Linked DNA regions of Homo sapiens: all the other regions are linked to region 1. Evidence: promoter capture Hi-C in 16 types of primary human blood cells and fetal thymus (Javierre and others, 2016). All regions are on one chromosome and are shown on one strand. Each heading gives the region's core, a stretch centred on a gene start or on the middle of the fragment in contact. The rest is flanking DNA. Distances are from core to core; before and after follow the strand shown.

Region 1 (3,288 bases), core at 205-2,704:
GAATAATCTTACTTGCTCATTTGGGAAACAATTCATAGAAGAAATATTCATTGTTCTTATGCATAAACTTTAAAAATAATTTACCACAATTGGCCAAATTATTTTCAAAGTATAAACAGATAGACAAGAATACTAAACTTTCCCCTGCCTACATTTGAGAGTTTGTCAGCAGTCAACTCCAAGGCCTTTAATCCCAGGCTTTAAATAATTCAGATAACACTTGATTACTCCATTGCAAGAACCCTTGAGCTCTGCAAAATCTGAGTAACACAATATTTTCCACATTAAAAAAAGGCCAATCTTAAATAGTAGGCATCAGACCAAAGTATGCAACTCATTTTTGCATTTACTACATAAACTCTGGTAAATATCAGTGTAGTTTGCTACCAAGTAATTCTGCATTCTTGCTTTCATTACCAAGCCCTCTAGTTCTACAGCTTAATTTGCTCAACTCAGAATCCCCCATCCATACTTGTTCTGGTTTTAAAGGCTTCTTTGAATCATAACAAGTAAAATGGTTAGTTATGTTACTCAGAAACTCAAAAGTGTACACAAACGAAAATTTAAACTTAAAAGAATACTGTTTTGACATTCATTTCTATTTCTTTAGGAAAATCATTGTTTTATATCTTTTGACAACCAAGATTCAATAACTGCTGCCTCCGTTACTTGTAAACATCAGCCATTACAAAAGAGCTTTGCTCACTTGGCTAAATTACAACCTGAGTAATGTGAAACAGACAGAATAACCAAGAAATATTGGCTTCCAACCCCAAATCAAAAAGCAACAAAATTTTGCCATCAAAAATGTCTAGCTGAGTTCTAAATGGATTAAACTCATCCATAAAACTGACGTAGGTAGCACTTCACTTTGATGTATAGTAGGGTCCATATATGTCTGAGCATGTGTTCATAATTATCATGTAACCAGATAAATAAAAGACACAAAATTAGGTTACAAACATCAAATAAGCTCTGTAAAAATTATCAAAGTTGAGCAAAGAACCCACTGACTTTAGTGGTATGGAACATTTTTAATCAATTTCTTCTCTCAAAGTAAACTCATCATATCCTTTCCCCTCAATCCTTGTCTGAGCATAGGAATAATCAATTTCTCTTCACTCTAGCAAGCAAGTTTAGTTTTTTCATATATCTGGCCTGAAACAACATGAAGTAGAAAATCTACAGATTGCATTCAGTATCACCAATAAGTACCGCATTTGACTACTGCTCATACCATTTGGAAACCAGTCCTCACATGACGACTGGCCTGACACCTCATCCATCAGCAGGGTGCCCAGAGCAGAGTTGGACAGTCTTCCTTGCTCCATCTCCAGAGGGGAGGCCCAGTTGGGAAACAGGATTCTCTTCCAATAGCAATTAGATCTTTAAGATCAGGCCTCAGCAACATGACCTAAAGCCATCCTTTCTTGCAACAAAGTCTCCAGCATCTTCAGAGGAAGAGACCGGGAGTGAGGCAAATGAGGAGAAATCCAGGTCTCCGTGGCCTGATTAGAAACTTTGTTGTGTCAAATAAACTTTGGCCACTGGAGGAAAGTACCCCATGGTTGCTCTGGCTTTAGAAAGATCTGTCCAGGGCTTCTCAATCTTCTTTTCACCCCTCTCTCTCTCACTCCCTCTCTCTCTCCCCTCTTCTCTTGTTTCAAAAGGGGCCTCTGGTCAGCGCTGATTAATAAGTGTTTTTTGTTGTGAAGTGTTGAATAATAGAGGATGGCCGGTGACCCAGTAAGGACTAAACCTTGCGCTGGTTTATTGTGGCAAGCTGAGAAAGGGGCTTTAGGCCCGGGACCCCAGGCACTGACCCGCACACATCCCGCGGATCGCCTATTCATTCGCACAGCCCTCCAGTCGCCCAGGCTCCCATTGTTTGCTGAGCAACAATGGAGATTTCGCAGGGAAAGTAAAGCTCTTTTCAGATTCCTCTCTGATGTTTTGCATTTAGGGAAACACCGACCTCCACTTTTTCCCCCGACATTTTCCCTCCTGGCATTTAAAGCTGTTCGTTTTCGGGGAAACTTCTGTGAGTTTCGCGCTTGTTCGACCAACACCAGTGTTAGGAGGAGGCGAGACCGGTGGAAAAAGGAGAGCCCCAGAGATTTCCCGTGTGTGTGTGTGTGTGTGTGTGTGTGTGTGTGTGTGTGTGTGTGTGTAATGCATTTAGAGGACGGGAGCTGCCTCTAGGGAGAAAGGGGAGGGGGGAGGGGAGAAGAAAAAGGAAAGAGCGCGTTTCCTCGCCGGGGTTACCGGGGTGGCGCGGGCTTCGCGGCCGAGGGGCTGCCGGCCCGGCCCGCAGCTCCTCGCGGCCGGCTGGGAAGTGGCGGGTCCGGCTAGTCCGCGGGCGGGCGGAGCGCGCCGTCGCTGCCAGTGTCCCCCTTTAACATTCCTTCCCCGAGCCTTTCCCTGCTCCTCCGCTCTCCGAGCCCGGGGCGGCCCCGCAGACACCAGCGCCTCTATCCTGCGCTCCTTGGCGTACGCAGCCGGGCGAGGTCGCGGCGGGAATGGGCGCCGAGGCCCTGCCCGCCAGGGCCGCATCTGCGGCCCGAGACTTACTTCTGCTTTGCTTTCCTGCACCTGGCCCGGGGCAGGCTTTCTAGTTTCTGCCTCGGCCAGAGGAGCCGACTTCCGCAGGACGGGCTTGGGGCAGGGGGTGCCGGTGGGGGCAGCGGGGCGAGGCGAGGTCGCAGGGAGACGACCAGGCCTGCTTGGGCCTGGGCCGCTCCAGCCGCCTCGCCTCTTCAGGGACCTCGCCCCGGGACCACCCGAGCGGACCCACAGCTTCTGAGGAAACAGCTGCCTCGGGCCTAAGGGTCTTTGCTTTCCCCCAACGCATGCAAGCGTGGGTCGCCAGCCCAGCATGTCTGGCGTGGAGGCCGGAGGAGGGTGGGGAGCTGGCGGTGCCCTATGGCCAGACGAGTAAAAGTCGGTTAGTGTTTTATGCGCCTGGGGGAGGCGAAGGGCGCGGGCTTGCGGGGCCCGGGCTGCGAGTATTGGGAGGGGGCGCCTCGTGAGGCCGTGCGAGGCCGCCCTCCCCGGCAGGCCTCGTCCACGCCCTTGTGGCCTCCCAGACCCGCTGCGCTTTGGCTAGGCGTCCCTACGCGCCTCCACCTTCTCCAGGTGCACGCCTGGGCGCGGAGCTAGGCTGAGCCCCCAGCGAGGGGCGTGGGGCGAGGGGCGAGGGGCGAGGGCGTGGGCGCCACGCAGGCCGCGGAGCCTGGTGGGCGGCGTGAAGCGTGCACTGCGCCTGCCTGCCCGGTCCCAGCCTGCCGC
Region 2 (3,302 bases), core at 380-2,879, 950 kb before region 1:
TTTTTCTTCCTTAGGGAAACCTCAGTTTTGCTTTTAGGGCCTTTCAACTGTTTAGATGAGATCCCCCACATTATTGACAATAACCTCCTTTACTCAAAGGCAACTGATTGTAGATGTTACCCACAACTACAAAATACCTTCCCAACAACATGTAGATTAGTGTTTGTTTGAGTAACTGGGTACTATAGCCTAGCCAGGTTGACACATACAACTAACCATCACAGACTTCATTTAAACATTTATTATAAAGCTTTTAATATATTCAATATGTCTTACCATCTTTTCTCTAGTTTTTATTCTTTTGTCTCTATATTAAATTGTGGATTTTTTTTCTCATGTACCTTCAAAGGTACTAATTCTCTTTTCACCTGTATCTAGTCTACTGTTACATTCATCTACTGTTAAAAATACTCTGTCACTAAAGCTTGTCTTTTACTTTTTTTTTAACCACAGAAAACCTAGTTATTTTATAGTATATAACTGTTATTTCTAATATCTCAAGTTCTTGTTGGTCTTTCTGTTTTCCCTTGTTTCTGTGGGTATGTTTTAGTTTATCTTCCATCTTTGTATTTGTGTTGTCTGTATGGTTGCCTTTCTGAGCTGGATATTGTGTTTAAAGAACTATTTGTAGAGCTAATTTGAGGACAAGAATGAGGGTATCTTCCTCCTTAGGTGATTTGTATTTGCCTCCCAGGTGCGTGGATGTGCTGGCCTTTCAAGATAACTTTAATCCATGTTTAAGGATTGAAATATCCTGGGCTATCCAGATGAAAGAAGACATTCTAAAACTCTTTCAATGCTAGTTTTAATCTGTTAACATTTACTACTGGGATGGATACAGCTTTTAGGAGCCTTGGCTCAAAGTAGGTTGGGAGGTTATTTACCAAGGTTACTATCCTGGCAGATCAAGACCTTGACTTTTCACCTTTAGTCCTAGAAGTTTACCAAAAATCCATCAGAATCCCTTAGGCTCCCCTTTTTAATCAGCAAAAGTGGCCTTGAGTGCATTTCTCACCTTGCTGTGTTCTTAGCATGCTGGGTCACCACCTGGCAGTTCCTTAATATGTTGTTAGTTCTTGGATTCAGTTTTTTTCAGCGTCCTCAGAAGGAAGGATGGTCTGAGTTTCCCAGGTCGTTATTATAGAAAGTAGATGCCCCCTTATTTTTTCATTTTTGATGTAAATGATATCTTATTTGGCTTCTTAACTGGAACGTTAAACAAGTAGTAATTTGCTTACCAAAAGACTAATTACCTATGAATAAGTACTTTCTGATTTTACCAAACAGTTTTCCTATGTATATTAATTAAATAATATGGAAAAGATGAGTTGGAGTAAAGATAATAGACTTACATGAGAAACTGATAAGTCTTTTCTAGTTGTAGAGAGTTTGGTCACTGGCTTGATCTTTTCACCCTAATTCATTGTTTTCTTTTCACCCAACTTGTTCCCTTTCTGTCCTCTTTTATCATCTTCATGCTCTTGTTGCAAGGGCCTTACAGACTCAGATGACTCATCTAATCCCTTTCTCATTCATCTTCACTTTACAGGCTCATTCATACTGACAAGGCTGAGGGAACTTTCATGTCACCTATATGTGGACCCTGTAAGCAGTCACTTTTCAGGTCATCTTCTTTGTAGTGTGCCTCAGAGGCTCTAGGCATGTATACTTTCTTTAGTGTTTTATAATGCTAATGTATATTGCTCATCTCTCAATTCTTGACTCATACTCTACTTCTCCATTGGAACCATTTTCCTGTTTTGAGGCCTGGTCTCGTGACTAGTCCTCTTGGTATCTGGATAGAGCATTTCCCTTCAATTACACTTGCTGCTTGGTGTCATGCAAGGAGTGAACTGAGTTCTTAGACACATGGCCTCACTTCTGCTTGCAACATTCTATTGCTTTGTCCTACCTCAGAGACTGAATTTCTATGGCCATTGGAGTTCTTCTATACCAAGCCAATGTGTACCATACCTCTTTGGATCTTCTAGTTTGGACTGCTGTGTTCCTGCCCCTCTCTCATTGGAACTACCTGTCTTCACTTAGTCTATTTCCTACCATCCTGAGCCATTAAGGGCCCAGGAAGCCCACCTTTGTGTTATTTTTTCCATCTTAGGCTTGAAATACCAGTGGCAACTATGGCTTTATTGACACAGGTATTTTTGCACTCTATTTAATTTTTTCCTTTTTGCCATTTACCTCTTGCAACTTTTCTATTTCCTATGGTTACATTCCTTATCTTGCACCACACTGTTGATTTTGATGTTTTCCCTGCTATTCATTAATTGCAATTTAAGTTATATTTACGTTATGTCTGTTCTCTGCATATTCCTATTTTCTGTTGTTCTTTCCTGCTGTGCTTTGGCCATATATTCCTTGAGAACAGATGACTTGCACGGCTAAGGTGTTATGCACTGGCCACCTTAGGCTTGGTTTATTTGAGCTTCTAACTTCCCTGTCATGTAGTTGTTACCAGGAATTTTCTTAGGAAAAAATTGGCCACCAGGGGGACTCTCCTTTCTGGAAACAGTTCTGTATCTGGATATCAGCAACATTCTCATTTTAGAACGGCCACCCCTATTGCTGTATCATAGGATTGAAAGAAATATTTGTAATGGGACTCAATACTAACAGAAGAGATCTTTTTTTGTTTAACATTGTTTAAAACAAGCATATAAATAACCAAAACAAAACTCTACTAATCACCCTGTGTTCTGGAAGCCGTCATTAAACTAGACGTTTTGGAGTGGAGGGGTATCTTTTGCAGTAATATGAGGAAGCTAAGCATAGAGATTACACTAAAAAAATATTATTTTGGATCATTGACATCTGTGAGAAGCTTGTACAGTGCTGTTACTCATCTCATAAAGCATGTCTCAAAATGAAAAAAAAGGGGGAGAAGAACTAAAAACAATGAAAACATTTTTATTTAAAAATTCTGCCTCACCCACATAATGCAGTTTGTCCTGTCAGAATTAGTTGCTTAGAGCCACAAAGAGCAATGGGAGAATTTTCTCTTTCATTTAAATTTGCATCCTCACTGCCAAACAAGTTGAACAATGATTCACATGAGAATGATTTTTCTTAGTATTTATAACTCAGTCCATAATGACTCATTGGGCAATTTGCAGACAAGAACATATTTAACAAGAGTCTCACTGACCTGTTAGAAAAGGTCTCTGAAAGGTAAAAATTGAGGGTAAAGAAGAAAAATTTCCACAGAGAACTTGATACAGTTTTGATATCATCAAGAATTACTGTTGTGAGATTGCTTTCCCTTTTAGATGAGAAAGAACTTAATT
Region 3 (3,094 bases), core at 499-2,998, 1.0 Mb before region 1:
CAGGCATGAGCCACCGTGCCCAGCCCCTCATACTTTTCATTCATACGCTTTCTTATCTAACTCCCATACTGTCCCTGCAAGACTAGTCTGCTGGTATCAGGTTAGCAATTCCTCTCAAATTCTCATCACCATCTTGTCATTTATAGTTGCTACATTCCATTCCACCAAACATCACATTAAAAAAAATTTTTTTTCACCTGTAATCCCAGCATTTTGGGTGGCCTTAATTAACCTCAGCAAAAAGAGGAATTTAATTATAAGAATGCCAAGTTGTCTACTACAAACTAAGAAGAGAAATGGAGTTAGGTCTTAGGAATGACCTGGAATCAGAGAGTCAAAAATATCAAGATTCTCTCTATGTTTCTCATTGGTGATTTAACCTGGCTTATGTTTCTCTCCGCTCCCCGACTCTCTGCCTCACTCCTCATTTCCTTTCTTCTTGAGTTCATGTGGCAGAAAGCATGGTCACCAATAGCCCCCAAGTTGTTTTTTTGAGACGGAGTCTTGCTGTGTCGCCTAGGCTGGAGTGCAGTGGTGCAATCTTGGCTCACTGCAAGCTCTGCCTCCCGGCTTCATGCCATTCTCCTGCCTCAGCCTCCCGAGTAGCTGGGACTACAGGCGCCCACCACCACGCCTGGCTAATTTTTTGTATTTTTAGTAGAGATGGGGTTTCACAGTGTTAGCCAGGACGGTCTCGATCTCCTGATGTCGTGATCTGCCTGCCTTGGCCTCCCAAAGTGCTGGGATTACAGGCGTGAGCCACCGCGCCCGGCCAGCCCCCAAGTTTTACATGTTTCAGATTCTGCCATCCAGAGGACTTCCACCCCCCTCCTCCCTTTATTCTTTGTCCCATAATTCCTGGAAAAGACAATGATTGCTCTGGTTGGAACACGTTCCACTGCTGAACAAATCTATTGTGCTTGTGGGCTCTGTCATGTGGGAACATGGACATTCCTGCTGCAACCATGTGGGAGAAGGGGACAAAGAAGAGCAATTTCTAGAAAAAGGGCATGCAGTAAGCAATTTTATATGTGTGTCTTACAAACACCATACAAATATTTGAATACAGAAATGACCCTCTCCTGAAGCATCTCACTAGGCTACACGCTTCCAATTTTCCCAACCTTTTTTCAGTGATTTTGTTTTCACAAGGACAACTCCATCTTGTTCTCTTACTCTTTCAAATTTTATCATGGAAGTGTGACTTCTAGAACTCATTTCAATAGTTAGAGCTGATCAATACAGAGTTAAGATCACCTCTGCAAAAACCAGAGGGTTCCTAGGAGATCACTTCTCTAAGAACTTACTGACTTCCCCCACCCTGGAAGCTTTCATTATTGGTAGGAGTTATGATTCCAGACAAATTTTTCTATATAGAGACTTCAAGATGAAAGACTAATAATAACATTGGCCAAGGATGATCTGAATCTAAAGCAAAATGAAATCCTATTAATAATCTAATGGGAAAATTTTGCCCTGTGAACACTGAGCTATTACTAATACCAAACTTTTAGACATATATTGTCTCCTTTAGTAGCTAAAATTCATAAGCTACAAATGGTACATGCATATAGCAAATATTTTTTCTTTATATACTACTATACATCTCATACACAGTGCTACTTAAATGGTACTTCAAAATTTCTTTATGTTTATGACTAGTTTAAGTTTCATTATTTCTTAAATAACAAAATCATTTTCCCCATTGCACTATTTTATTTAATTCAATAAATAATCGTTGAGAACATACCAAAGGCATATCTAAAAGGTGTTATTCTAGGTACTGAGGCTGTGAAGGTGATTATGGCTTTTGAATAGCTTATAATCTAATGACACACATACATATACACATACACAATAGCAATGAGAGGTATATCATAGGCTCATCTAGGCCTGCCTGCTACAAAATCAGAAAACAACGAATACAGACCTAGGGCCATGTGAAAGGGCATTGAGCTGTAGTGCTTTGGGATTAGATAGATTTGCTCTTCAATCCAGTTTCTGTCAGCTACTCTCTGTTACTTGAACAAGTTAAATATCCTTTCTGAGTCTTATTCTTTTCCTTTGCAGAATATAAACTGTATTTATTTGATGATGTTCTTCTGTGAGAATTCAATGTCATAAAAGTATACAATATGCTATTCATTTGTTCATTCCAAAAACATTTAGAAGCTTTCATTATGTTGGAAGATTTAGATAAAAGAGTAACCAGTCATTGTGTAACATAATACATGCTGTTGCAGAGGACTAGATTTAAGAGTTTAGACTTTATTTTGAAATTAGAGACCATTGATGAGTTTCAAGTAAGATAACAAATTTTCAAATTTCCATTTTAGAGAAATAACTCTAGTTGTAATGCAGCAAGTAGATTGGAGCAGGCCGAGTCTGGAGGGCATGAGGCTTGTTTGTAGCTATTGCAGAAACCCTAGGCAAGTGATGATTGCAGACATCATCCACAATGACAAAATAGGACTGAAGCAAATCACAAAAACAGAAAATTAAACTGAAGAGGAGGGTCCTGTCATAAAATTTGCCAAGCAGTGGCTTCCTGATGGACTAAACATAGAAAAGGAGAGGAAGAAAGGGAACAGCATGACTCTGAGACACAGGTGTCAAGAGATACAGGAAAAGAAGTAGGTTTTCAGTGAAGGATAATGAACTCTGTTCTGACTATGTTGAATTTGAGGTGCCCATGGGACATCTAGATGAAGATTTCTAAATACATATTTGGATTTTGAAGAGAAGAGTTAAAGAGAGAAATCTGACCCAGAGATGTGGCTTTAGGTTATGTGAATTAGCTACGTAGTCCCTCAATTGCCATGCATTGGAATCTACTCCCAGTAGCTGCAGTGAACAGTGTGCACACAGATTGAATCCTGGAAACTTGTGATCAGTATGGTGGGATGGCCCATCTTACCTTTTATGAGTTCACCAAGAATTTTTCCTATTTAAAAGAACACCATGAATCCAGCCATTCATTCACTGCAAATCTAGCACAAAAAGATTGGCAACAAATTGTATTCAGGTAATAGATATCTCAGAGACCAATTATTAGTCAAATGTGGTAACACTGGGACTGATCATATCAGGAATT

The links. Contacts are between HindIII fragments. The CHiCAGO score rates a contact against its expected background, and 5 or more counts as called.
Region 2: a contact is called between a fragment that was not itself captured here and the fragment with the promoter of LINC01414 in region 1, in 4 of 17 cell types (M1 macrophages, M2 macrophages, endothelial precursors and 1 more). The highest score is 10.5, in M1 macrophages.
Region 3: a fragment that was not itself captured here is called in contact with the fragment with the promoter of LINC01414 in region 1 in 4 of 17 cell types (endothelial precursors, M2 macrophages, M0 macrophages and 1 more); the score reaches 7.1 in endothelial precursors.

The regions. Positions count from the first base shown.
Region 1 is chr8:64,367,104-64,370,391 of GRCh38, forward strand. LINC01414 (long intergenic non-protein coding RNA 1414) reads right to left here and starts at 1,455. Exons shown (of 5, transcript NR_125826.1): 1 at 1,238-1,455. RefSeq lists enhancers at 1,658-2,159, 2,976-3,288. The HindIII fragment of the contact is 6,543 bases long and covers 1-3,288 here.
Region 2 is chr8:63,416,088-63,419,389 of GRCh38, forward strand. It overlaps LOC105375875 (a long non-coding RNA gene), which reads right to left and starts at 1,835. Exons shown (of 4, transcript NR_188107.1): 1 at 1,353-1,835. The HindIII fragment of the contact is 2,415 bases long and covers 423-2,837 here.
Region 3 is chr8:63,370,992-63,374,085 of GRCh38, forward strand. No RefSeq gene overlaps it. Among named protein-coding and RNA genes, the nearest start is that of YTHDF3, 200 kb to the left of the region's middle. The HindIII fragment of the contact is 844 bases long and covers 1,327-2,170 here.